2 separate regions of the Homo sapiens genome follow, and region 2 is linked to region 1. The links are contacts of gene promoters, found by promoter capture Hi-C in human tissues and cell types (Jung and others, 2019). All regions are on one chromosome and are shown on one strand. Each heading gives the region's core, a stretch centred on a gene start or on the middle of the fragment in contact. The rest is flanking DNA. Distances are from core to core; before and after follow the strand shown. Region 1 holds the start of SLC2A7 (solute carrier family 2 member 7). Region 2 has its middle 18 kb from the start of H6PD.

The links. Contacts are between HindIII fragments. The study calls those that stand out against the background at their distance.
Region 2: a contact is called between a fragment that was not itself captured here and the fragment with the promoter of SLC2A7 in region 1, in 1 of the 25 tissues and cell types used here (spleen).

What each region holds. Positions count from the first base shown.
Region 1 is chr1:9,024,511-9,028,073 of GRCh38, reverse strand. SLC2A7 (solute carrier family 2 member 7) reads left to right here and starts at 1,651. Exons shown (of 12, transcript NM_207420.3): 1 at 1,651-1,779; 2 at 3,000-3,098. The coding sequence starts at 1,729. The HindIII fragment of the contact is 20,163 bases long and covers 1-3,563 here.
Region 2 is chr1:9,215,248-9,218,810 of GRCh38, reverse strand. No RefSeq gene overlaps it. Among named protein-coding and RNA genes, the nearest start is that of H6PD, 18 kb to the left of the region's middle. RefSeq lists an enhancer at 2,377-2,904. The HindIII fragment of the contact is 4,427 bases long and covers 1-3,563 here.

The DNA.
Region 1 (3,563 bases), core at 402-2,901:
CCACGGGGGCATGCCACCATGCCCAGCTGATTTTTGTATTTTTGGTAGAGATGAGGTTTCACCATGTTGCCCTGGCTGGTCTTGAACTCCTGAGCTCAAGCAATCCTCCACCCACTCAGCCTCTCATTGTGCTGTGCTTATAGGCATGAACCACCGCACCCTGGCCTTCCCCAGGTATACTATGTGTATTCTGCTTTGATCACTTCTCTTAAAGGTCATGTTAATTAAAAAACATGTTAATGTTTCCATGTTCCCACATTTCATAATTATCCTTTGAAACAGAAGTCTGGCATTCCAATCAATTAGTTACTCCTAATTTATTCAATCATTCTCTACTTTAAAAAAAAAATGCTAGTAGAAATGATTCTGAAATAAGCACCTTTGTCCAATATTTTATTGACTTATTTAACACTATTTAGTGTAATTAGAAATAATAACTGTGTTTTTCTGAAAGTGTTTAATTTGTTCTTTCCCCCAAATGGACAATTAGTCCAAATGCACAAGAGGAGGCATATATGAAGAACCTAGGAACACACAGAAAGGAACAGCAAACACTGGGATCTACTTCCGGCTGGAGGGTGGGAGGAGGGAGAGGAGCAGCAAACAAACACTGGGAAGTGGGCTTAATACCTGGGTGATGAAATAATCTGTACAACAAACCCCCGTGGCACGAGTTTACCTATGTAACAAACCTTCACATATACCCTGAACCTAAAATAAAAGTTAAAAAAAAAAAAAAAGCCAGGTGCGGTGGCTCATGCCTGTAAGCCCAGCACTTTGGGAGGCCAAGGCAGGCGGATCACTAGAGGTCAGGAGTTCTAGACCAGCCTGGCCAACATGGTGAAACCTCATCTCTACTAAAAACACACAAAAAAAGGCTGGGTACGGTGGCTCACGCCTGTAATCCCAGCACTTTGGGAGGCCGAGGCGGGCAGATCATGAAGTCAGGAGATCCAGGCCATCCTGGCTAACACGGTGAAACCCCGTCTCTACTAAAAATACAAAAAAAAAATTAGCCAGGCATGGTGGCAGGCACCTGTGGTCCCAGCTACTCAGGAGGCTGAGACAGGAGAATGGCGTGAACCCGGGAGGCAGAGCTTGCAGTGAGCTGAGATTGCGCCACCGCACTCCAGCCTGGGCGACAAAGCGAGACTCCACCTCAAAAAAAAAAAAAAAAAAAAAAAAAAGCTGGGTGTGGCGGCACGTGCCTATAATCCCGGCTACTTGGGAAGCTAAGGCAGGAGAATAGCTTGAGCCCAGGAAGCCGAGGTTGCAGTGAGCTGAGATTGCGCCACTGCACTCCAGCCTGGGCAACAAAGGAAGACCCTGTCTCAAAAAAAAAAGAGGCATACATGGAAAAATGACACAGAAAAAGCATCCTAGATCCAGGTCACAGCCTCACTGGGTCTCTGAAAGTCCTCATTTCTGCGGACCAATGTCAGGCAATGTTTTTTCTCTCTCCTTGGTGCAACTAGGGAGCTTTCGGCTTGGGGCTTGGTGGGTGCAAAGACGAAATTCGTGCTGTGTATGATTTGTGCACTGGCAACGTGTGTCTTATCAACATTTCCAAGGAGAATTTGCTCCTGGGGAAAGTCAGCAGGGTCCAGAGAGCAAAAGGATCATAAAGCCAGGTAGGCCCAGGGGAGAAACAGCCGGTCTTTAGGTGGCTGGCGCAGAGCAGGTGTCACTTGGGAGGTAGAGCACACCTGTTCTCCCACCTGAACAAGGATGGAGAACAAAGAGGCGGGAACCCCTCCACCCATTCCATCCAGGGAGGGGGTAAGTGCCAAGACTAGGAACCTGTCACTGTCCCTCTCCCACCAGCTGTGCAGACCTGTGGAGGGAGGTGAAGGCCGTGGAATGCTTTTAGCAAGGAGCGGGTAGCGTGCTTCCTTTTTCTTCAGGATAACCAGGCCTGGGAGAGCCATGTGGAGAAGCAGCTATGCTCAAACCTCATGGCTCAGACATGGGCCAGGGTGGCTGAGCGAATGCTGGGAGAGCGGATGGTGCTGGAGATGCCTCTCTCCCTTCCACCCCTGCTCCCCTCCGCTTCCCCTACCCTTAAAGATCGAGGGGAGATGGCCTCTGAAGAATGCCCGAATCCTGCCCTTCTGTCTGGTTGTTCCTGGATGTGCAGAGCTACGGGCTGTGGGCAGCCAGGCAGCTAAGTGTGAGGGTTGGGGTGAGGACATGTGGAACAGGAGTGAGGGGTGGAGGGGGCAGTGGGGAGGGGGCATGCACCAGGGCCTTGGCTCTAGGACATGGTCAGAGACCCTGCCCACCTGCTCCTCAGACTTTGGCCCTCAGGCCAGTTCCCCTCCAAGCTGCCCTGGGTGTTGTGGCAACCATGGAAAGCCTGGCCCTGAGCACAGGCGACTGCCGGGATTTTCCTAAGGGCCTGTTCTAGAGGCAGAGGCAAGCAATGAGTCCCTCTGTCTGGGATGCTCTTCCCCCCGATGCTTACACAGCTGCTCCCTCTCATCCATTCTGGTCCCGGCTCAAAGGGCGCCTGCTCAGAGAGGCCTTCCCTGCCCTGCCCACCCTACTGAACACAGTCTCTCATTCCTCACAGGCTGCTACCCCACCCATCACCCTATTTTATTGTCCTCACAGCATTCTAGCTATTTGGAATTATCATCTTTGTCTTTCTTGGACGGGGTGGGCTCCCCTCACTAGAAAGTGAGCTTCTTAAAGGCAGTGCTTTGCTGGGCCTTTTTCCTAAAGCATCCCCTACTTCACACTTGGCCTCCAGGGCCTAGTACAGGGCCAGGCACGTAGCAGATGCTCAGATACATCCTCAAGGAGGGAATGAATGCGTGCAGAGACCTCAGCCCCCAAAAGCCCCAGCCCTGCGCCACCTCCTCCTCTTTTCCGGGGGCACGGCCTGGGATCCCCCATCCCCCACTTCCAGCCCAGGCTGGAGGGAGGTGGAGGCCCAGCCACTCCACTTCCCGAGGCCCAAGCCCACAGCGTCCCGACCTTGGACTTGTCTCCTACAGCGGCTCCAGCCGACGCTGTTGCTGGCGACACTGAGCGCGGCCTTTGGCTCAGCCTTCCAGTACGGCTACAACCTCTCTGTGGTCAACACGCCGCACAAGGTGGGCACAAGGTGGGCACAAGGTGGGCCGGGCAGCAGCTGACCGGGGTCGTGGGTGGAAGGTAGCCGCCATCTTCCTCCGTGGAGGCTGCCATCTTGCCTGTAGGAGGCACCATCTTGCCTTTGGGAGCAGCCAGCTTGCCCTAGTACCCTGGATGCTCACCCCTGGAGACCAGGGCGTGGCAGGAGGTGTTTCCCCCTGGAGTGTCGTCCTTTCCGGGCACATTGGGATGCTGGGGGACCTGTTCCATTTTCCAGCCCAGTCTTTTTGGGCCTCAGGTCCCACTGCTCTCACCTTGGGTAGGCCCCTTGTTGATTGGAAAGAGAATGGGGTCAAAGATTGAACTCTGTGGCATTTAGGGATTGGGGCAAAGGGGAAAAAAGGAAAAAGAGAAGGGGCCCTTGCAGGTGTGGAAGACCCTGAGGGCAGAATGTCCCCAAAACCTAGTAAAGGATGAGAGTCAAG
Region 2 (3,563 bases), core at 289-2,788, 190 kb before region 1:
CACCTGCAATCCCAGCACTTTGGGAGGTTGAGGTGGGTGGATCCTTTGAGCTCAGGAGTTGGGAGACCAGCCTGGGCAACATGGTGAAACCACGTCTCTCCCCAAAATATGAAAATTAGCCAGATGTTGGCTGGGCACAGTGGCTCATGCCTGTAATCCCAACAGTTTGGGAGGCCGAGGCGGGCGGATCACGAGGTCAGGAGATCGAGACCATTCTGGCTAACATGGTGAAACCCCGTCTCTACTAAAAATACAAAAAATTAGCCGGGCGTGGTGGCGGGTGCCTGTAGTCCCAGCTACTCGGGAGGCCGAGGCAAGAGAATGGCGTGAACCCGGGAGGCGGGGCTTGCAGTGAGCCGAGATCGTGCCACTGAACTCCAGCCTGGGTGACAGAGTGAGACTCCGTCTCAAAAAAAAAAAAAAAAAGGAAAGACGAGTCACAGTTGGGGCCACATCCCATAAATGAGAAGCTACGTGCCACTTGGCTGGTGCAGTGTCGTTTAACCCAGGATCCTGTCTGGCTCTCCCTCGTCCTGGGATTAGGAGGAGCCCAGCCACCAGCCGGCCATCCTTCTGCATTTGTATGGGAAGGGTTAGACACACGGAGGTTTTAATCACTGTAGCTGACACCTATCAGAGCTGGGACGGCAGCCAAGTCCACATGGTGAAAACAGGAGCCTCTTCAAGGGCCCAGGTCTCGTCTCCATTTCTGTATCCCTCTCAACGGCTCAACAACGCCTGTCCCATCTTCAATTTATTGTAAAGGGTAATTACGTGTCAGCTTAAGTCAGACACTTGGCCTTCATCACAAGTCCAGTATAGGAGAAGGTTAAGAACATTTAAGCCGTGCCCGTCTGTGGCTCACACCTATAATCCCAGCACTTTGGGAGGCTGAGGCAGGTGGATCGCTTGAGCCCAGGAGTTCGAGACCAGCCTGGGCAACATGGTGAAACCCTACAAAAAATACAAAAATTAGCCAGGTGTGGTGGCGCATGCCTATAGTCCCAGCTACTCAAGAGGCTAAGGTGAGAGGATCATTGAGCCCAGGAAGTTGAGGCTACAGTGAGCTGAGATTGTGCCACTGCACAGAGCAAGACCCTGTCTCAAAAACAAAACAAAACAAAACACTTAAAAGGCATACGGCCAGGTGCAGTAGCTCACGCCTGTAATCCCAGCACTTTGGGAGGCCGAGGCAGGTGGATCACCTGAGGTCAGGAGTTTGAGACCAGCCTGGCCAACGTGGTGAAATCCCATCTCTGCCAAAAATACAGAAATTAGTCAGGTGTGGTGGCACTCAGAAGTCTGAGGCAGGAGAATCACTTGAACCTGGGAGGTGGAGGTTGCAGTCAGCCCAGATGGCGCCATTGCGCTCCAGCCTGGGCGACAGAGAGAGACTCTGTCTCAAAAAAATAATAATAATAAATAAAATAAAAATAAAAGGCATATGAAAAATTCAAATGTGTGCCGAGGTCTGTTCCCAGAACCCATGCAATTGGGTAGCATGCCAGTGATGTTCTCCTAACTCTTCTAGAATTAAGCACCCCACAGATGAGGCCCCAAAGGGATGCATCTGTACTAAGTTCCAGGACACGGGGTAATGTTAGTGTGAGGTTCCCAGGTACCTGAAACCCACATCACAAATAGAACATTAATGAGTGCTACAATTAGAACTGGCTCCACACACACAGGTATTTAGAAGTGAGACAGGAAGTGTAAATGGAGCCCTAATTAATGGATGTGCTAATTGTGCTTCCCTGAAATTGGGAGATTAACCCTGGCATATTTTTAAAGCTTTTTTGTGTAACTGGTACATTGAACAAGTGGGACTCATTGGGTGTAGAAAACACTTAATCTTCCCCCCACTGCCTGGTTCAAACCTGTTCAAATGCTCTTATTCATGCCTTGCATGAGATCTAAGGCAGGCCCTTGACTCTGCTGGCCCCTCTCTCCAATCAGGATCTACAATGTGCAGTCCCAGGCCAGGCACGGTGGCTCACGCCTGTAATCCCAGCAGTTTGGGAGGCCAAGGTGAGCGGATCACCTGAGGTCAGGAATTCGAGACCAGCCTGGCAAACATGGTGAAACCCTGTGTCTACTAAAAATACAAAAATTAGCCAGGCGTGGTAGCACGCACCTGTGATCCCAGCTACTTGGGAGGCTGAGGCATGAGAATCGCTTGAACCCAGAGGTGGAGGTTGCAATGAGCCGAGATCACACCATTGTACCCCAACCTGGGTGACAGAGCAAGACTCCATCTCAAATAAATACATAAATAAAATAAAATAACATGTGCAGTGCCATGTAAGTGTCAACCCCCCCAAATGACAGCTTCTCCCCACCCCCAGCTCCTGGTGGGGAGGCGGCTGGGCGTGGGATACTGTTTTCCCTGTGGGGCATCCCTTTGCTGGCTAGCTGCACTTTCTGGCGGTTTCCTAGGCTTACAGTGGAGAAGGAAGAAGACACAGGGAGAGAACAGGCGCAGTGTAACTGGACGGGTAGGTCACAGGCTGGCTTCGCTATCCCCTGGGTTTGATAGGAATTTAAACTTGTTGCATGGGAGCTCTTTTGGGGTTTTTTTGTTTGTTTGTTTGTTTGAGATGAAGTCTTGCTCTGTCGCCCAGGCTGGAGTGCAGTGGTGCGATCTCCGCTCACTGCAACCTCCACCTCCCGGGTTCAAGCAATTCTCCTGCCTTAGCCCCCACTAGTAGCTGGGATTACCGGTGCGCACCACCACCACCACGCCCAGCTAATTTTTCTATTTTTAGTAGAGACGGAGTTTTGCCATGTTGACCAGGCTGGTCTCAAACTCCTGACCTCAGGTGATCCACCCGCCTCGGCCTCCCAAAGTGCTAGGATTACAGGCGTGTCCACCGTGCCCGGCCTCTTTCTATTTTTTTAATTGAGATAGAGTTTCACCCTGTCGCCCAGGCTGGAGTGCAATGGCGTGATCACTGCAACCTCGGCCTCCCAGGTTCAAGCAATTCTCCTGCCTCAGACTCCGGAGTAGCTGGGATTACAGGCACGCACTACCACGCCTGGCTAATTTTTGTATTTTTAGTAGAGACAGGGTTTCACCACCTTGGCCAGGCTGGTCTGGAACTCCTGGCCTCAAGTGATCTGCCCGCTTCGGCCTCCTGAAGTATTGGGATTACAGGCGTGAGCCACCGCAACCAGCCCTCAGGGTCTTTCAAGATTCCTTTAACACAAGGATCTCACAACTGCTGTTCTTTTGATTCCAGTGAAAACCATCTCCTGGGGCTGGTCTTTTATTTGTAATTCCACCTCCAGCTCCTGGAGATGAGGTGTTAGAGTACAGAACTCTTCCTCTAAATTCTCCTTTCGCTCCAGGTGGTCTGGGTGGGAGGATCTCAGGCTCTCCCAGCCCCGCACCTGGTCCACAAAATCTCCTACCTTGGACGGGCTGTTGGGGAAGGAATGTGACCACCCAGCTGCGTTAGCCAGGCGCCTCCTCTCCACCTTCAGGTCTTTCGTGTGGGAGGTGCACGCTGGCCATTTTGTTCTGGGCCCAGGGACATGTGCCTTCTCTCCATGGGGACCCTTAG